Regions from separate parts of the Homo sapiens genome. Here all the other regions are linked to region 3. The links are contacts of gene promoters, found by promoter capture Hi-C in human tissues and cell types (Jung and others, 2019). All regions are on one chromosome and are shown on one strand. The core of a region is centred on a gene start or on the middle of the fragment in contact, and the rest is flanking DNA. Distances in the headings are between cores, read along the strand shown.

Region 1 (3,042 bases), core at 344-2,843, 470 kb after region 3:
TCTGGGAGCAAGAACTGTTTGATTTCTTTTTGTTGCTCTGGCAGTATCTGGCAAGGGTCTTGTACAAGATCTTGATCGAATTTATGGAAGTGATTAGCCACACTGTAGATAACGATGGCTTTCTGCTTGCAGAAACAAGTGGAAGCCGGTGTCTGTGTTACCATGGAGATGGTGAAAGATGCCTTGGACCAGCTTCGAGGCGCGGTGATGATTGTTTACCCCATGGGGTTGCCACCGTATGATCCCATCCGCATGGAGTTTGAAAATAAGGAAGACTTGTCGGGAACACAGGTACGTAGTTTGTGAGTGGGTACTCTGGAGGTTGAGTTCCTGGCCCCCAAAGCCCTTAAGATTTGATGCCCCTCTTCTGGATGTAGTGTTTTGCTCCCTACACAGCTTTCAGGTTTGCTATGCCCTGCTTCAGAGCAGAGTTCTGAATTCAGGAGCAGCCCCTGAGAGTGGGTACTCATGAGTGAGGGGTTTGGCCCCACACACAGGAGGCAGTGGACGCAGTTTGTGAGGCCGCTCATCAGGAGTGACTGCAAACATTTCCACTGTCTTTGGCTGCTAGGAAGCCAGCTACCTAATTTCTTCCTATTTCTACCCAAATGCGTCAGTCCCTTTGCATGGAAATTTGTGTTTCTAGTCTTACCTGTTGCTTCATGTTATTTTCTGACCCTCATGTTCCATTTTCCTTGGGTTTTCTCACTTCTTATCCTATTGGACAATATTCTTTGTCTAAGCCATGTTAAATAAATGAAATATGCAGAAGTAAACAGGCAGCCCCTTTATACCTCGATTTAAACACCCAGCACGATGCCAGTGCCCTTCCCTGGCAGTGGCCTACAGATCTGTCTAAGACGAACTATATGGATCAAGGTGCAAATGAGATAGGATCTCCCTGTTGTCCAGAGGAGGAAGTTAACTGAGTCAGGGCATGAGTGGAAACTTAACAGGGAAGGTACTAAAGTCAGCAAGGACTTAGAGTGAGGTGCGGGAGTCAGGCCTCCCATGGTGAGCACGGGGAGAAATCTGTCCCCTGCCCCCTGCTGGGAGGGGCTCAGCTGGGCTCTGCCCCCTGGGTGGGAACACACAGTCAAGCCATTCTTACGACTGGCCCCAGGCAGGGCTCAACGTCATTAAAGAGGCAGAGGCGCAGCTGTGGTGGGCAGCCAAGGAGCTGAGAAGAACGAAGAAGCTTTCAGACTACGTGGGGAAGAATGAAAAAACCAAAATTATCGCCAAGATTCAGCAAGTAAGTACTTTTTGCTTTAATGTGTCAGTAGTTTTTGTTATTTCCCTTCAAACTGATAAAAATGTACAGTGAATCCGAAAGATTTAAACTACTGGTACAAATATTTTAATCTTATTGGCTCGGGTTTAAACTAAAAATATCCTCTTCCTGCACACCAACAAAAACTGGAAGAAAATATGGATTGAGTACCAATATCTAGAGTTTGTTTTAATATGTGGGGGAGAGGAAATATACTATGTTAATTTCAAGCGTAAAAATAGGGCTGCAAGTAAACAGATATGTTCCTTGAAATGTAAAATTTCGCCCGTCACTGATTTCAGGCTTTTTCAAACTGCTGATGCTGTGTACAGGAGGGGGAGGAGGAAAGGTTCGAGACCTTTGAAGGACATCGTGTAGCGCTGTAACCTGAGGGGCCGCCTTGGTTTTGTGGGTGCTCCTACGTCACTAGGCTGTGATTTTGGGGAAATGGGGCCCTCCACCTTATGTAGATCCAGAGTCCGTGGCTCTGAGCATCCTCCCTTTCCCACTGGACCTGCCTGCAGTGTCTGCCTTGGGAATGGTCAAGACAGAGATGGTATCGTGCAGCCTCTGGTCTCCACACAGTGAGAGTCCAGGGCTCAGGGCTGCTCAAGACCAAGGCTTCCCTTGATGCTTCACTTCGGGTGATCAGACATGGGGGACCTGTTTATCTTTAGTAGCCGGCAAAGGCAATCGTAAAACATTTGTTGTAACTTCAGGATTGTCACTCTAAGAACACCTTAATCCACAATTTGCTCTGCTCTCCTCTTTGCAGAGGGGACAGGGAGCTCCAGCCCGAGAGCCTATTATTAGCAGTGAGGAGCAGAAGCAGCTGATGCTGTACTATCACAGAAGACAAGAGGAGCTCAAGGTAGCAGGGGACAGATGGGCTTTCTGCAGTGCTGGCGCCCACACATAGCCTGTGTGCCTTACCTGGGGCTGCTGGGGAGCAGTGAGCTCTGCAGAATGCCGGGGAGGGGTCTTTCTAGAGCTTCTGTCTGCAGGTCTGTCGGGGTCCTGCCAGGTGTCCCCTGGTGTTAGACATGGCAGTATCCTGCTCCTAGAGGGCAGGGAGAGGGGGAGGTCAGTCATGGACTCTTTCTTCAGTCTCTTTATGTGCAAAACACTTTCCTGAAATGCCTGCCTGAATAAAACATACTTATTTCCAGAGATTGGAAGAAAATGATGATGATGCCTATTTAAACTCACCATGGGCGGATAACACTGCTTTGAAAAGACATTTTCATGGAGTGAAAGACATAAAGTGGAGACCAAGATGAAGTTCACCAGCTGATGACACTTCCAAAGAGATTAGCTCACCTTTCTCCTAGGCAATTATAATTTAAAAAAAAAAAAAAGGCCACTTACTGCCCTCTGTAAAAGATGTTAACATTTCTAGTTTTCTTTTAGTGTGAATTTTTAAAATAGCAGTTATTCAAGGTTTTAGAACTTAATAAATACCTAGTCAGAAGAAAATGTGTAAATCGTTTTTGTTTCAGGACTATTTAGTATGTCATGGTTTTCTTTGATAAAATACTAAACTTTTGGCCGGGCGCGGTGGCTCACGCCTGTAATCCCAGCACTTTGGGAGGCCGAGGCAGGCAGATCACGAGGTCAGGAGATCAAGACCATCCAGGCTAACACGGTGAAACCCCGTCTCTACTAAAAATACAAAAAATTAGCCGGGCATGGTGGCAGGCGCCTGTAGTCCCAGCTACTCGGGAGGCTGAGGCAGGAGAATGGCGTGAACCCGGGAGGTGGAGCTTACA
Region 2 (2,882 bases), core at 137-2,636, 290 kb after region 3:
GCAGAGATTGCACCACTGCACTCTAGCCTGGGCAACAGAGCTACACTCTGTTTCAAAAAAAAAAAAAAAAAAAGATTGCAATGGAGCTGAAAAATTCCTATCATCTAGTGACATCATAGCAATCATAATACTGTAGCACAATACATTACTCATGTGTGTGGTGATGCTGGTATTAAGAAACCTCTGTTTCAGTGGTATAAAAGTATAGCACATACAATTACATATACCACATAAAACTCCATAATGATAATAAATGACTATGTTACTGGTTTATGTATTTGCTATACCAGTAGTCCCCAACCTTTTTGACACCAGGGACTGGTTTCATAGAAGACAATTTTTCCATGAACTAGGGGGTGGAGGATGGTTTGAGGATGATTCAAATGCATTACATTTACTGTGTACTTTATTTCTATTACAATTACATTGTAATATATAATGAAATAATTATACAATTCACCATAATGTAGAATCAGTTGGAGCCCTCAGCTTGTTTTCCTGCAACCAGATGGTCCCATCTGGGGGTGATGGGAGACAGTGACAGGTCATCAGGCATTAGATTCTCATAAGGAGTGCACAAGCTAGATCCCTCATGTGCAGAGTTCACAATAGGGTTCGTGTTCCTGTAAGAATCCAATGCTGCTGCAGATCTGACAGGAGACAGAGCTCAGGTGGTAATGCGAGTGATGCAGAGTGGCTGCAAATACAGATGAAGCTTTGTTTGCTCACCCGCCGCTCACCTCCTCTTGTGCAGCTCGGTTCCTAACAGGCCACTGACTGGTACCAGTCTGTGGCCTGGAGGTTGGGGACCCCTGCTTTATCTTATTTCTCGCATATTTAGTGAGGCCTCATCAGTTGTTAAGGCCCAGCTATTTATCTTCCCCCCAAATGTATATATTGAAACACTAATCCCCAGTGTGATAGCAGAGGAGGTAGAGATGCTGGAATGTGACTAGGTCACAAAGGTGGAGCCCTTATGAATGGGATTAGTGCCCTGGTAAGAAGCTGAAGAAACCACAGTTGTCTCCCTTCCACCATGTGAGGACTCAGCTAGAAGGTACCATCTATGAACCAGGAAGCAGACCCTCACCGGAACACAAATCTGCCAGTGCCTTAACCTTGGATTTCCCAGCATCCAGAGCTGTGAGAAATAAATTTGTTGTTTATAAGTCACCCAATTAATGGTATTTTGTTGTAGCAGCCCAAATGGACTAAGACATCAGCTAATGTATATAGAATATTTTTTACATATTTATTGGCTTTGTGGCTTCTAACATTTTAAAAATAAACTTAAAAAAAGAGAGAGAACAATGTCTACCTTTGGCCACTTGCCTCCTGCAGGGGTGGGAGGTGGTTGGGGACGCCTATACTATACTTTTTACTGTTATTTTAGAGCGCACTCTTTTTACTTACAAAAAAAAAAGTTAAGTATATAAGAGCCTCAGGCAGGTCCTTCAGGAGGTATTCCAGAAAAAGATATTGTTTTTATAGGACATGATAGCTCCATGTTTGTTATTTTTCCTGAAGACCTTCCAGTGGGACAAGATGTGGAAGTGGAAGACAGTGACACTGATAATCCTGACCTTGCGTAGGCCTAGGCTGATGTGTGTGTTTGTGTCTTAGCTTTAAAGTTTAAAAAGTAAAACAAAATAATTAAAATGGTAAAAATAGAAGATATTTTTGTGCAGCTGTAAATGTGTATTTTTTTAAGCAAAGTGTTATGCCGGGCACGATGGCTCACGCCTGTAATCCCAATACTTTGGGAGGCTGAGGCAGGTGGACGACCTGAGGTCGGGAGTTTGCGACTGCCTTGACCAACATGGAGAAACCTTGTCTTTACTAAAAATACAAAATTAGTTGGGCGTGGTGGTGCATGCCTGTAATCCCGGCTACTCAGGAGGCTGAGGCAGGAGAACTTCTTGAACCCTGGATGCAGAGGTTGCGGTGAGCTGAGGTTGCACTACTGCACTCCAGCCTGGGCAACAAGAGCAAAACTCTGTCTCAAAAAAAAAAAAAAAAAAGTCAAGAAGTTTTAAAAAATGTCTGGGCACGTTGGCTCATGCCTGCAATCCCAGAACTTTGGGAGGCCGAGGTGGGCAGATTACTTGAGGTCAGGAGTTCAAGACCAGCCTGGCCAACACAGGAGCTTGTGGGGTGTGCGGATCATCTCTACTAAAAATACAAACATTAACTGGGCATGGTGGTGCACGCTTATAATCCCAGCTACTTGGGAAGCTGAGGTGGGAGGATTGCTTGAACCTGGGAGGCAGAGGTTGCAGTGAGCTGAGATCACGCCACTGCACTCCAGCCTGGGGATAGAGTGAGACTCTGTCTCATTGCTTGAACCTGGGAGGTGGAGGTTGCAGTGAGCTGAGATCGCGCCACTGCACTCCAGACTGGGTGACAGAGTGAGACTCCATCTCAAAAAACAAAAACAAAACAAAACAATAACAACAAAAAAGTTTTAAAAAATAAGAAAGCTTATAAAGTAAAAAAGTTATAGTAAGCTATTTATTATTGAAGAAAGAAATATGTTTAAACATTTAGTGTAGCCTAAGTGTACAGTTGTTTATAAAATCTACAGCAGTGTACAGTAATAACCTAGGCCTTCATATTCACTTACCACTCACTCACTGACTCACCCAGAGCAACCTCCAGTCCTGTAAGCTCCATTCCTGGTAAGTGTCCTATACAGGTGCACCATTTTTAAAGCTTTTATGCTGTATTTTTACTGTATCTTTTCTATGTTTAGATACAGATACCATTGTGTTACAAGTGCTACAGTATTCAGTACAGTAACATGCCGTATAGGTTTGTAGCCTAGAAGCAATAAGCTATGCCATACAGCCTAGGTATGTAGTAGGCTACACCACTAGGTTTGT
Region 3 (2,917 bases), core at 321-2,820:
CCCACCGCACCCCGACGCCGACCACCTGTCCGCCGAGGGTCCGTCCGTCTGCCACGTCCCAGACCGTCTGCACCGCCTAACTGGTCTTTTTCTGCCTCTTGAGTTCCGGCAGCCTCCTTTGATAGGACCTGGCCGGCGGGAACAAGGGCGCCCGTGGCCTCTGGCGGAGGAGAAGGAAAAGAACCACCCCTCCGCCCCCGCCACTGCTCGAGCGCAGCCCCTAGTACTGGGAGCCGGCGTGCTCCGCTCCGGGGAGGTAGCGCTCGGGGATGGCCTCTCGCTGCACCCGGGGCGCGCCAACCACGGCAAGGCGCCCTAAGTTCTACATCGGCCCCGCGAAGCGCGCAACTCCAGGGACAAGGAGAGAGATGTGCTGGGTGAGAGCGAGCACTTTCTGCCTAAAGCCGCTGGAACCGACCCAGAACCCCAAACTGCCCCGAGGCGCCATCGAACATCCGCTCTGGTCACTTTAACGTCCCAGGGGTGGGGGCGGGGAAGGGGGTGCCCGACAGTCCCTTCCTCTGGACTGGAAGGTTCGAAATGCTTTCCTTGCTCGGCCTCGCTCTCCCAGACGCAGGGAGCAGGGGCGCGGAGAAGCTGAGCGAAGGGAGGCCGGGCCGAGGTCGCGCCCCAGGCCCAGGCCCGCCCTCACTTGGAGAATTGCGCCTGCACGGCGGCCAGGCCCAGGCTGGCCGGGACCAGGTGCGGGAACTTGCACACGGCGCAGGTGCAGAGGCCGGGGCCGCCTGCGCCGCCGCCGGGGAGAGCGAACTGGCCGCACGGCGGCTCGTCCAGCGCCAGCGACAGGTACTTGGCGGGGCGCAGCGCGTCGGGGGGTCCTACGGCGCCGGGCGCCAGCAGCACGGAGCCGGGCGCGGCGGCGAGCAGGGGCAGCCCGGCCAGCAGCAGGCGCGGCGCGGCGGGCCCGGCGCCCTCGCCCAGCGCGCGGCGCAGCTCCTGCAGCGAGCTGCCCAGCAGTAGGATGTAGTTGCGGGCGAGCAGCAGCGTGGCTATCTTGGAGAGCTTGCGGCCGGGCGCGCCCTGGCAGTGCGCCGCTGAGTAGGGCAGGATGACCTCGCGCAGGGCGTCCATGGCCAGGTTCAGGTCCTGCATGCGCTTCCGCTCGCGGCTGTTGATCTTGCGCCGCAGCTGCTGCTGCTGCTCCTCCTTGGCGTCCGGCCGGGCGCTGCCGCCCGGGTGCGCGCCTGACCCGGGCCCGGGGCCTGGAGGCTCGGCCGGCGCCTCCGGCTTCTCGCGCGCAGCCTTGGGGAGGAGGGGGGCCGTCGTGGAGGAGGAGGAAGTGGAGGAGGTGGAGGAGGTGGAGGAGGAGGAGGAGGAGGGCGGCTGCCTGTAGCCCACCAGCTCGTAGAGGGAGGCCCCGAGCTGCAAGTCTCCGGGCCGCTGTGGCCGCAGCATGGTCCCGGGGACCGCGTTCACGCGCGCCTGGGAAACCGCATAGTACATCTGGGAGGCGGTGGGGGCGGCCGAGGACGCCCTTCAGGAACGCCCTGGGGTGGGCCGGTCGGCAGGCCGCCCCTCCCCGCGGACCTGCGCGCGGGGAAACGATGGTGGGGCCCTGGCCCGCGCCCTACCCCTTTAAACCCGGCTTGGGAACCTGCGGGGCAGCGGGTGGCGGGGCGCAGCCAATGGAGGCGCGAGGCCGGGCGCAGCCGCGTGTTCATTGGCTGCTTGTGCCGGGGCCGCGCGGAGGTGCGGCTGGCACCGCTTTAGGAGGTTATTGTGAGCGCCTGTGCCAGCCGCGCGGGACAGGCCCCCTGAGCGGAGTAAGGGCGCCTTTTCAAGGCAAGCGGGGCTGTTGAAGGAGGACTGGTCGCACTGGTCAGGCTGCAACTCACGTGCCTTCCTCCAGCAACTGTCTACTCAAAAACAACCTCCCTCATATTTTTTTTTAACTGTGATCACATATTCATAACATAAAATTTACCGTCTTATGTTTAGAGTACTGTTCAGTAATGTTATATGCATTAGTGTGCACATTAAATTGATTTAAATTAAATTCACATTGTTGTGCAACCCATCTCCAGAACTCTTTTCAACTTGCAACCCTGAAGCTCCACCCATTAAACAACTCCCCACTCCCCCCGACCCAAGTTCCTGGAATTCACTCTTCTGTTCTGTCTCTATGAATTTGTTCTACTCTAGGTCCCTCATATAAGTAGAATCATACAGCACTTGTCTTTTAGTGACTGGCTTCTTTCACTTAGCATATTGTCGTCAAGGTTTATCCATGTTGTAGCATGTATCAAAGTTTCTTCCTTTTCAAGGCTGAATAATATTCCAGTATATGGATATACCACATTTGGTTTATCCATTCATTCGTTGATGGACATTTGGGGTGCTTTTGGTTGTTGCGAATTATGCTGCTATGAACATGAGTGTATCATGTTTTTTTTTTCTTAAAATACATAATTTCCTGCCAGGTTCAGGTCGCTAAATTTCTGGACTAAATGACAAGTAGCATTAGGATATTTCCTCCCTGCTGCTCCCAACCTCCTTCCCCATCCCTCTGATTGAAAGGTCTTTAGGGACAAAGGAGCCTTTGGGTCGGGTTTCTATCCTCCCCGAAAGGGATGGTCTATCAGCAACTTGACATTTGCTTAAGCAAAAGTCACTCAGAAATTGGCCTCTTATTAGAAACAAAACAAAACACCCACATAGTCCTATCGGTTGAGGGTGGGAATGAATCATTTTATTTGCCAAATAGAATAGCATTACTTGGTGTCTATGGACATTTTCTGCCCCCAGCACCAGTGCATGCTACTATAACTTGTCAATGTCCTGGGGAAGAGGGCATCTTGGTGGCTGTGCTTGCTGGTTTCAGGGCTGCTTTGTTCTGGTTTTCTTCCACCAATATTTGCCACATGGGTTCACTCTGATCTTTGCTTCTGACCCCCAG

The links. Contacts are between HindIII fragments. The study calls those that stand out against the background at their distance.
Region 1: a fragment that was not itself captured here is called in contact with the fragment with the promoter of OLIG1 in region 3 in 1 of the 25 tissues and cell types used here (lymphoblastoid cells).
Region 2: a contact is called between a fragment that was not itself captured here and the fragment with the promoter of OLIG1 in region 3, in 2 of the 25 tissues and cell types used here (dorsolateral prefrontal cortex and heart right ventricle).

The regions. Positions count from the first base shown.
Region 1 is chr21:32,601,374-32,604,415 of GRCh38, reverse strand. It overlaps CFAP298-TCP10L (CFAP298-TCP10L readthrough), which reads left to right. Exons shown (of 12, transcript NR_146639.2): 4 at 133-291; 5 at 1,124-1,255. It overlaps CFAP298 (cilia and flagella associated protein 298), which reads left to right. Exons shown (of 7, transcript NM_021254.4): 4 at 133-291; 5 at 1,124-1,255; 6 at 2,049-2,144; 7 at 2,443-3,042. The coding sequence ends at 2,553. Among named protein-coding and RNA genes, the nearest start is that of CFAP298, 9.5 kb to the left of the region's middle. The HindIII fragment of the contact is 3,171 bases long and covers 8-3,042 here.
Region 2 is chr21:32,774,754-32,777,635 of GRCh38, reverse strand. All of the region lies in intron 1 of EPCIP-AS1 (EPCIP antisense RNA 1), which reads right to left. Among named protein-coding and RNA genes, the nearest start is that of EPCIP-AS1, 4.1 kb to the right of the region's middle. The HindIII fragment of the contact is 6,384 bases long and covers 1-2,882 here.
Region 3 is chr21:33,068,794-33,071,710 of GRCh38, reverse strand. OLIG1 (oligodendrocyte transcription factor 1) reads right to left here and starts at 1,570. Exons shown (of 1, transcript NM_138983.3): 1 at 1-1,570. The coding sequence starts at 1,464. The coding sequence ends at 649. The HindIII fragment of the contact is 10,124 bases long and covers 1-2,917 here.